Regions from separate parts of the Homo sapiens genome. Here all the other regions are linked to region 3. The links are contacts of gene promoters, found by promoter capture Hi-C in human tissues and cell types (Jung and others, 2019). All regions are on one chromosome and are shown on one strand. Each heading gives the region's core, a stretch centred on a gene start or on the middle of the fragment in contact. The rest is flanking DNA. Distances are from core to core; before and after follow the strand shown. Region 1 overlaps UTP4 (UTP4 small subunit processome component). Region 2 has its middle 9.4 kb from the start of SNTB2. Region 3 holds the start of PDF (peptide deformylase, mitochondrial).

What was found. Contacts are between HindIII fragments. The study calls those that stand out against the background at their distance.
Region 1: a contact is called between a fragment that was not itself captured here and the fragment with the promoter of PDF in region 3, in 2 of the 25 tissues and cell types used here (IMR-90 fibroblasts and lymphoblastoid cells).
Region 2: a contact is called between a fragment that was not itself captured here and the fragment with the promoter of PDF in region 3, in 1 of the 25 tissues and cell types used here (thymus).

The regions. Positions count from the first base shown.
Region 1 is chr16:69,151,362-69,154,331 of GRCh38, forward strand. It overlaps UTP4 (UTP4 small subunit processome component), which reads left to right. Exons shown (of 17, transcript NM_032830.3): 9 at 2,223-2,319. Among named protein-coding and RNA genes, the nearest start is that of UTP4, 20 kb to the left of the region's middle. The HindIII fragment of the contact is 8,255 bases long and covers 1-2,970 here.
Region 2 is chr16:69,176,329-69,179,118 of GRCh38, forward strand. No RefSeq gene overlaps it. Among named protein-coding and RNA genes, the nearest start is that of SNTB2, 9.4 kb to the right of the region's middle. The HindIII fragment of the contact is 6,249 bases long and covers 1-2,790 here.
Region 3 is chr16:69,329,226-69,332,089 of GRCh38, forward strand. It overlaps PDF (peptide deformylase, mitochondrial), which reads right to left and starts at 1,363. Exons shown (of 2, transcript NM_022341.2): 1 at 772-1,363. The coding sequence starts at 1,345. COG8 (component of oligomeric golgi complex 8) reads right to left here. Exons shown (of 6, transcript NM_032382.5): 5 at 1,588-1,870. The coding sequence ends at 1,614. RefSeq lists enhancers at 729-1,376, 2,025-2,672 and silencers at 1,001-1,380, 1,411-1,800. The HindIII fragment of the contact is 3,727 bases long and covers 1-2,057 here.

The DNA.
Region 1 (2,970 bases), core at 285-2,784, 180 kb before region 3:
GCCCAGGCTGGAGTGCAGTGGTGCGACTCCACTCACTGCAAGCTCCGCCTCCCAGGTTCATGCCATTCTCCTGCCTCAGCCTTCCGAGTGGCTGGGACTACAGGTGCCCACCACCACGCCCGGCTAATTTTTTTATTTTTAGTAGAGGTGGGGTTTCACTGTGTTAACCAGGATGGTCTTGATCTCCTGACTTCGTGATACGCCCGCCTCGGCCTCCCAAAGTGCTGGGCTTACAGGCGTGAGCCACTGTGCCCAGCCCCTGCCTTTTTTTTTTTTTTAACCATCTGGGACATGGAGATATTGTAGGACTTTCTGTAGCTACCTTCTTCATTCCTTCTGTTTTTGAGGCAAGCCACTGCAAAGACATTTATGGGGGCAGGAGATATGCAGCAGCACACCTAGTTCAGTTTCTGGGGAAATTTTTCCCTTTTCCAAATAGTTGTGGGTTATGGGAATTTTGTTAGTTTGTCTTTCAGGGTAGGCTCTATTCTGGGTGGGAGCGGGAAAACCCAGGCTTCCAGTGTTCTAGGTAAATGGTACCATCTTCCCAAGCTAGAAAACTTGCTCCCCACACCTGCTGCCCCATTCATTCAAGCAGTAAACCTCATTGAGTCTACTCATCAGTATCTTTATACATATGTTATAGATATAGATAGATAGATAGATAGATCAACAGCTCTATTGAGGCATACTTGATATATTAAAAATCATACATATTTAATGCATATGGTTTGATGAGGTTGAACATAGTCCTCATAATCTCTTGAATCGAGTCATTCATTTCTCTTTGTCTACGCTGGCATCATCCTAGTTTGGATCAGTGTCTTTTCTCATCTGGGTTCCTTTACAGTAGCTTCTTAATCATGTCCTTTTATTTGCATTTGTGTCATTCTAGCCTATTCTTCATTGATCTTATTTTATTTTATTTGTTTTTGTTTTTTTGAGACAAGGTCTTGCTCCGTCACCCAGGCTGCACTGCAGTGGTGTAATCTTGGCTCACTGTAACCTCTGCTTCTTGAGCTCAAGCAGTCCTCCCACATCAGCCTCCCGAGTTGCTGGAGCTGCAGGCATGCGCCACCAGGCTCAGCTAATTTCTGTTTTTCTTTTTTTTTTTTTTTTTTTTTTGAGACAGAGCTTTGCTCTTGTTGCCCAGGCTGGAGTGTAGTAGTGAAATCTCGGCTCACTGCAACCTCAGTCTCCTGGGTTCAAGCGATTCTCCTGCCTCAGCCTCCCTAGTAGCTGGGATTACAGGCACCCGCCACCACGCCTAGGTAATTTTTTTTGTATTTTTAGTAGAGACAGGGTTTCACCATGTTGGCCAGGCTGGTCTTGAACTCCTGACCTCAGGTGATCCACCTGCCTTGGCCTCCCAAAGTGCTGGGATTACAGGCATGAGCCACTGTGCCCGGCCTCGGCTAATTTTTTTATTTTTTATTTTTTTTAATAGAGGCAAGATCTCACTATCTTGCCCAGGCCAGTCTCAAACTCCTGGTCTCAAGCAATCCTCGCACCTCAGCCTCTCGATTGCTGGCATTACAGGCATGAGCCACTGCTCCAGGCCCATTGATCTGTTTTAAAGCACCTTTGTTCATCACTCCATGCTTCAAAGCCTCTGGTTATCCCTGTTGGCTTCAGCATAAAGACAGTTTCCTTAGTGTGTCTTATAGAACCTGTCTCCATCCAGGCCTGGCCCTTCAGCTTCTTTTTGCACCTCTCGTGCTTGTAGCACCCCCACCCAGGCTAGCCATTCTCAAGGTCTTTTTGTTCCCTCAAATACTCTTACCTTTGAGCTATGTCACATGCCATCACCCTCCTCAGAATGTTCTGCCCTGCCTCCTTCGCCTGACTGGTCTTTCCCAGTGAACCTCATCTGGGCTTCTGTATTTACCACCACACAGCTAGGTTAGATGTCCTGTCTCCTTATTTTTCAGTACATACTGTGTTTAGCCGTGTTAAAATTCTTGGCACACTGAAGTCTAATTGCTGATTTAATTCTGTGTCACCCCTTTAGAAGCATGTTGAGAGCAGTAGCTATGTTTTAATTCATCATCGTCTTCATAGATCTCAGGGCAGTGCCTGGCATATGGGAGTACTTAGGAAATATTTATCAAGGAAATGGATTTCAGCAGTAAAAAATGTGCTAAGGTGGTGCTACTGTATCTGGTACTAAGGCAGTAGATGACCCTGACTTATTTTTTTAACTTCTTGATTCTTGGATATAGCGATGTCTCATCTCCTGTTCTAAAAAGAGGCAGCTTCTCCTCTTCCAGTTTGCTCATCACTTAGAACTTTGGCGACTGGGATCCACAGTTGCAACAGGTAAGATGGGAGCACGTTTTTTTCAATAAGAAAACTGGAGAGAGAAGCCAGAAATCAGAATTGCGGTTGGAATTCTGCTTATAGAAAAACTGAAGTAGACTTTTGTGTCCATTTTAACTAATGGTTTTCCCACCCATTAGATAAAGCAAATAAGCTGTTTAGAGTATTAGAATCTTTAGCAGGATATTGGATCATCTCTTAAAAGTTTATGGCTCTAGGTGGTGCGCTGCAGGGTGTAGTCAAGGTAAGGGTTGAAGAATCGTAGTTTGCGCTAGCTTAACTGAGGTGAAAACAGGCTGTTGAAAAACAACAAGATTTAATGATGGGTAATGATAATCCTGTAGAAAAAGAAGATCACATGGATCTTATTGGAGTGACAGCCTAGTGGCCTTTTTGACTTATTAAGGAAATGTTTGAGTCCTCTCATTTGCAGTGGATTAAAATCGAGGCCACACAAACTCCACCTGTGTCCCTGGCTATGGACTAGAGCTTCAGGGAATTAGTGATGTATCAGAGGATAGAAGCAAAAGAAGTACTCACTGCTTTCTCTTCATATACCCCTCAAAAATTGTGAGCTTACTCAGTGAGCTTGTATTTTTCTGATTTCCCACTGATAGAGATTCCATTTTTCCAAGGAGTAACTTTTTAGAA
Region 2 (2,790 bases), core at 143-2,642, 150 kb before region 3:
AGCTACTCGAGAGGCTGAGGTGGGAGACTTGCTTGAGCCTGGGAGGTTGAGGCTGCAGTGACCTGGGACCACACCATTGCATTCCAGCCTGAGAACAGAGCAAGACCCTGACACACAGACACACACACACACACACACACCACACACACAATAGAGTGGTTTCCACAGAAGGAAGCTAAGCAGTTTAGGAAAGTATGTGGAAAAGACAAGTTGTTTTGGATACAGAGTCCTTGAGCCAACATGTAGTGAGAAATAAGACCAGTTGGGGTGGGCCTTCCAGTCTGTGGTCCAGAATTTTCATTCAGTGGAAAACACAGCTGTGAGTCACTCACACATTCAATGGAATGACAGTAAAAATGCCCATTTGTGTAAGGGGCAGAAGAGACTGGAAGTTAGGGAGGCAAAAAACAGGCTGTTGTGTAGGTGACGGGGGGTCTATGTTAGGGCTGCCATAACAAAGCACTATTGGGATGGCTTCAACAACATAACTTCTTTTTTTTTTTTTGGAGACAGGGTCTGGCTCTGTTGCCCAGGCTGGATTGCAGTTGCTCAATCTTGACTCATTGCAGCCTTAACCCCTGGGCTCAAGCAATCCTCCGGCCTCAGCATCCTGAGTAGCTAGAACTACAGGTGTGCGCCACTACACCTGGCTAATTTTTTTTTTTAATAGCCCAAACTGTCATTTTTTCTTTTTCTTTCTTTTTTTTTTTTGGAATAGAGTCTCACTCTGATGCCCAGGCTGGAGTGCAGTGGCACGATCTCAGCTCACTGCAGCCTCTGCCTCTAGGGTTCAAGCACTTCTCCTGCCTCAGCCTCCCAAGTAGCTGGGGTAATAAGTGTGTGCTACCACATCCAGCTAATTTTTGTATTTTTAGTAGAGATGGGGTTTCACCATGTTGGTCAGGCTGGTCTCAAACTCCTGATCTCAAGTGATCCACCCGTCTCGGCCTCCCAAAGTGTTGGGATTACAGGCACGAGCCACCGCACCTGGCCTTTTTCTTTTTTTTTTTTTTTTTTAATCAAGGATCTATTTTTTTGTAGAGATGGGGTCTCACTATGTTGCCCAGGCTGGTCTAGAACTCCTGAACTCAAGCAATCCACCTGCCTTGGCCTCCCAAAGTGCTGGGATTATAGGCGTGAGCCACTGTGCCAGACCAGAAATTTATTTTCTCATAGTTCTGGAGGCTAAAGGTCTGAGATTGAGATCAAGGTGTCAGCAGGATTTTTTGTTTGTTTGTTTGTTTGTTTGTTTTTGGTGGTGGTGGTTGTTTTGAGACAGAGTCTCACTCTGTTGCCCAGGCTGGAGTGCAGTGGAGCAATCTTGGATCACTGCAACCTCCGCCTTCCAGGTTCAAGTGATTCTCCTACCTCAGCCTCCTGAGTAGCTGGGATTACAACCATGCAACACCATGCCCAGCTAATTTTTGTATTTTTAGTAGAGATGGAGTTTTACCATGTTGGCCAGGCTGGTCTTGAACTCTTGACCTCAAGTGATCTGCCAGCCTCAGCCTCCCAAAATGCTGAGATTACAGATGTGAGCCATCGTGCCTGGCCTTGTTTTTTAGCTTTTTGTTTTTTGGTAGAGACGAGGTCTTGCTATATTGCCCAGGCTGGTGTCGAACTCCTGGACTCAAGTGATCCTCCTGCCTCCTGATGTGCTGTGGTTACAGGCATGAGCCACCACGCCAGGCTGGATTGGTTTCTTCTGAGGCCTCTCTCCTTGCCTTGTAAATGACCATCTTCTCCCTTCATCTTCCCATGGTCTTCCCTCCATGCATGTATCTCTGCCCTCATCTCTTCTTATAAGGAAAACAGTCAAACTGGATTAGGGCCCACCCCAGTGACCTCATTTTAACTCAGTTACCTCTTTAAAGATTCAATCTCCAGGCTGGGTGTGGTGGCTCACACCTGTAATCCCAGCACTGTGGGAGGCCAAGGCAGCCGTATCGCCTGAGGTCAGGAATTCGAGACCAGCCTGGCCAACATGGTAAAACCCCGTCTCTACTAAAAATACAAAAATTAGCTGGGCATGATGGCAGGCATTTGTAATCTCAGCTACTCGGGAGGCTAAGGCAGGAGAATTGCTTGAACCCAGGAAGCGGAGGTTGCAGTGAGCCGAGATGGTGCCATTGCACTCCAGTCTGGGCAACAAGAGGGAAACTTCATCTCAAAAAAAAAAAAAAAGAGGCCGGGCACGGTAGCTCACGCCTGTAATCCCAGCACTTTGGGAGGCCAAGGCGGGCGCATCACGAGGTCAGGAGATCGAGACCATCCTGGCTAACACGATGAAACCCCGTCTCTACTAAAAATAAAAAAATTAGCCGGGCGTGGGGGCAGGTGCCTGTAGTCCCAGCTACTCGGGAGGCTGAGACAGGAGAATGGCATGAACCCAGGAGGCGGAGCTTGCAGTGAGCTGAGATCAGGCCGCTGCACTCCAGTCTGGGCGACACAGCGAGACTCCATCTCAAAAAAAAAAAAAAAAAAAAAAAAAAAAAAAAAAAGAACTGGTGAAGGGGGAAAGTAGACTTTTAATTTAATTTTTATTTTTTTATTTTTTTTGAGACAGTCTCGCTTTGTCACCCAGGCTTGAGTGCAGTGGCACGATCATGGCCCACTGCAACCTCCGCCTCCCGGGTTCAAGCGATTCTCCTGCCTCAGCTTCCCAAGTAGCTGGGATTACAGGTGCCTGCCACCATGGCTGGCTAATTTTTGTATTTTTAGTGGAGACAGGGTTTCACCACGTTGACCAGGCTGGTCTCGAACCCCTGACCTCAAATGATCCACCCACCT
Region 3 (2,864 bases), core at 113-2,612:
ATCATCCTCAACCTCCCTACCCCTGCCCCCGGTCCTGGCTGTTCCCATTGACAAGAGGCAACAGCAGATGGCAAATGTAGACAGCAGCTCCTCTTCTAACTGGAAAACGTCCCTCATCTCGGTCCATTACCAAGCGTTCAACCTGGTTCCCAACTCTGGTAATTAGGTTATCGAGCTCACTGTAGAGCTGAGATGAGAAATCATCTTTCTACGGTGCGACCCTTCCGAACACTCCTCCCACTTCTGAGGTACCTGTGGGCTCCCAACTCCTAACAGAGGTTCTGCAGCTTGAGACCCCACTTGTTTTTCTGACCATCTTGAACCGACGGGCTTGCTGTGCAGGAACAATCACCCCGACCCCAGCAGAGCCCGCATTCCGCGAGGCATCCTGTGGTACCACGGGGGAATGGCCTAGCCCCCTGGGCTGGGTCAGGCTGGCGGGGGCTAACCCCCACTTCTCCAACTCCACCGTGGCGGATCTAACTGGGGCCGAAGAGCGTGTTTGCCTCAGAGAGCAAGGGAGCAGAAAGCAGACGCCAGGCTGTCAGGTAACAGCGGAACTAGGGGACCTCTCCTCGCCCCTGCGTCCTATCTGAGCGGGCTCTACCCCACAGGAGCTTCTATCCGTCCTGAGGCCTCTCCGCTCCCGCATCCCACTTCGCTCCTGCGGGAGGTCCGGCGTATGAACCGCGACCACTTCTGCGCTCTCGCGGAGTCGGGCAGAAGAGACGCGCGCGCTGCTCCAGCAGCCCCGGTCCCCGCCGCCCGCACCTGAGATCTGCACCGCCTGGAAGCGGGGCACGCAGGCCAGGAAGCCGGCGACGCTCTCGCAGCCCTCGGGAAAGGTGACCAGGCGGCTGTCAAGCACTCGCAGGCTGGGGTTCACGAACACGCGCAGGGGGAAGGGCTCCATTTGGCGGAGCGCGCGCTGGCGGGGCGGGCACTCCCGACACAGCGCCTCGGGGAGCTCCAGCGCCAGCACCTGCCGCGGCACCCCCAGCTGCGGCGCGCTTAGGCCCACGCAGCGCCGCCGCCGCATCACCTGGACCAGCCGTTGCGTCAGCCGCTGCAGCTCGGGCCCGCCTAGCTGCGCCCGCTCCACCGGGGCCGCCACGCCGCGCAGCACCGGGTCCCCGACTTGGCACACGTGCGAGAACGGCGGTTCGGGAGGACCCAGCACCAGACGCCTCAGGTGGCGCCAATAGGAGCGCCGCAGCGCCGGGCCCTCGACGCCGTCCGGGGCGGCCGTGGAGCTGCAAGCCCGGACACCGACGGCTGCCGCCCCGCCCCACGGCACGGCCGCCCACAGTGGCCAAAGACTCAGCGCGCCCCACAGCCGGGCCATGGCGGCCCCCTTAACAGTGACCCGGCCCGCCCCTTCCGGCCGCAGCGCGGGGCACGCCGGGAAGCGCCGTCGGCCAGCACACAGCGAAGCCGCGACTGGATCCCCGCCTTCCTGCTTAGACTGGCAGTGAGCACCGCCCCCTTCCGCTCTCCTCCCGGGAGCGCCTTCCCGCCTCCCGAACCCGCCCCGGACCTTCCAGGGCGAGGCAGTCCTGGCCACCCCGCGCCGGGAACCTCACGCACCGCGTTCTGGAGGCAGGGGACGCCGGCTAGGGCCCCACGCTGGGCGGTTCGGCCTGCGTCTCCGCTCGCCCTCCCTCCGGGCAGGCTGGGCCCGCGGGCTCCAGGCGTGGCTCCTCGGCGGGAGGCTCTGGTGCTGGAGCTGTGAGCTCGGGCCCCAGCGCCTGGTCATCCAGGGTGAAAAGCGTCTCTCTCTTTGGCAGGATAAAGGCGAGGGGCTCCTGAATGGCGCCGATGTTCACATGCCCTAGGTTACCGTACTTGGAGAGCTGAGTGGGAGGAATGCCTAACCCAGACGTGGGGAAAGCAAAATGGAAAACAGTTACTAATAAAACTCAATATAGAAATTTAAGGGAGGCCGGGCGCGGTGGCTCACGCCTGTAATCCCAGCACTTTGGGAGGCCGGGGAGGGGGGGGCGGATCACCTGAGGTCAGGAATTCGAGACCAGCCTGACCCACACGGAGAAATCCCATCTCTCTTAAAAATACAACATTAGCCGGGCTTGGTGGCGCAGGCCTGTAATCCCAGCTACTTGGGAAGGCTAAGGCAGGAGAATCGCTTGAACCTAGGAGGTGGAGATTGCAGTTAGCCGAGATCGCGCCATTGCACTCCAGCCTGGGCCACAAGAGCAAAACTCCGTCTCAAAAAAAAAAAAAAAAAAAAAAAAGGAAATTTAAGGGAAAAAAAACGAGCCATTACTATTTTTTTTTTTGAGACAGTCTCGCTCTGTCGCCCAGGCTGGAGTGCAGTGGCGTGATTGCTGCTCACTGCAACCTCTGCCTCCCAGGTTCAAACAGTTCTCATGCCTCAGCCTCCGTGGTAGCTGGGATTACAGGCGCCCGCCACCATGCCAGGCTAATTTTTGTATTTTTAGTAGAGACGGAGTTACTATGTTGGCCAGGCTGGTCTCAAACTCCCAACCTCAGGTGATCCATCCGCCTCGGCCTCCCAAAGTGCTGGGATTACAGGCATGAGCCACTGCGCCCAGCCATCAATTACTATGTTTTAATACAGCAAAAACCACCTTTGTTACAGGGAATGGGAAGCTATACTGTGAAGCAGAACGTAACGGAACAGCAGTGTAGGGTGCCTGCAGCAGGAACCCAGACCTCAGGCAGCACCAGGGAAAAAGCAGAGGGCAGCCAGGCTTTGCACGTGTGATGCACTGACCCATTGCCCTTTGGGAAGCTGTGCCTCAACCAAGCCCCTCTCCTACCACAAAGGGACAAGGACGTGAAAGTGAATTGGAAAAAAGACTTTAGGACGGGCGTGGTGGCTC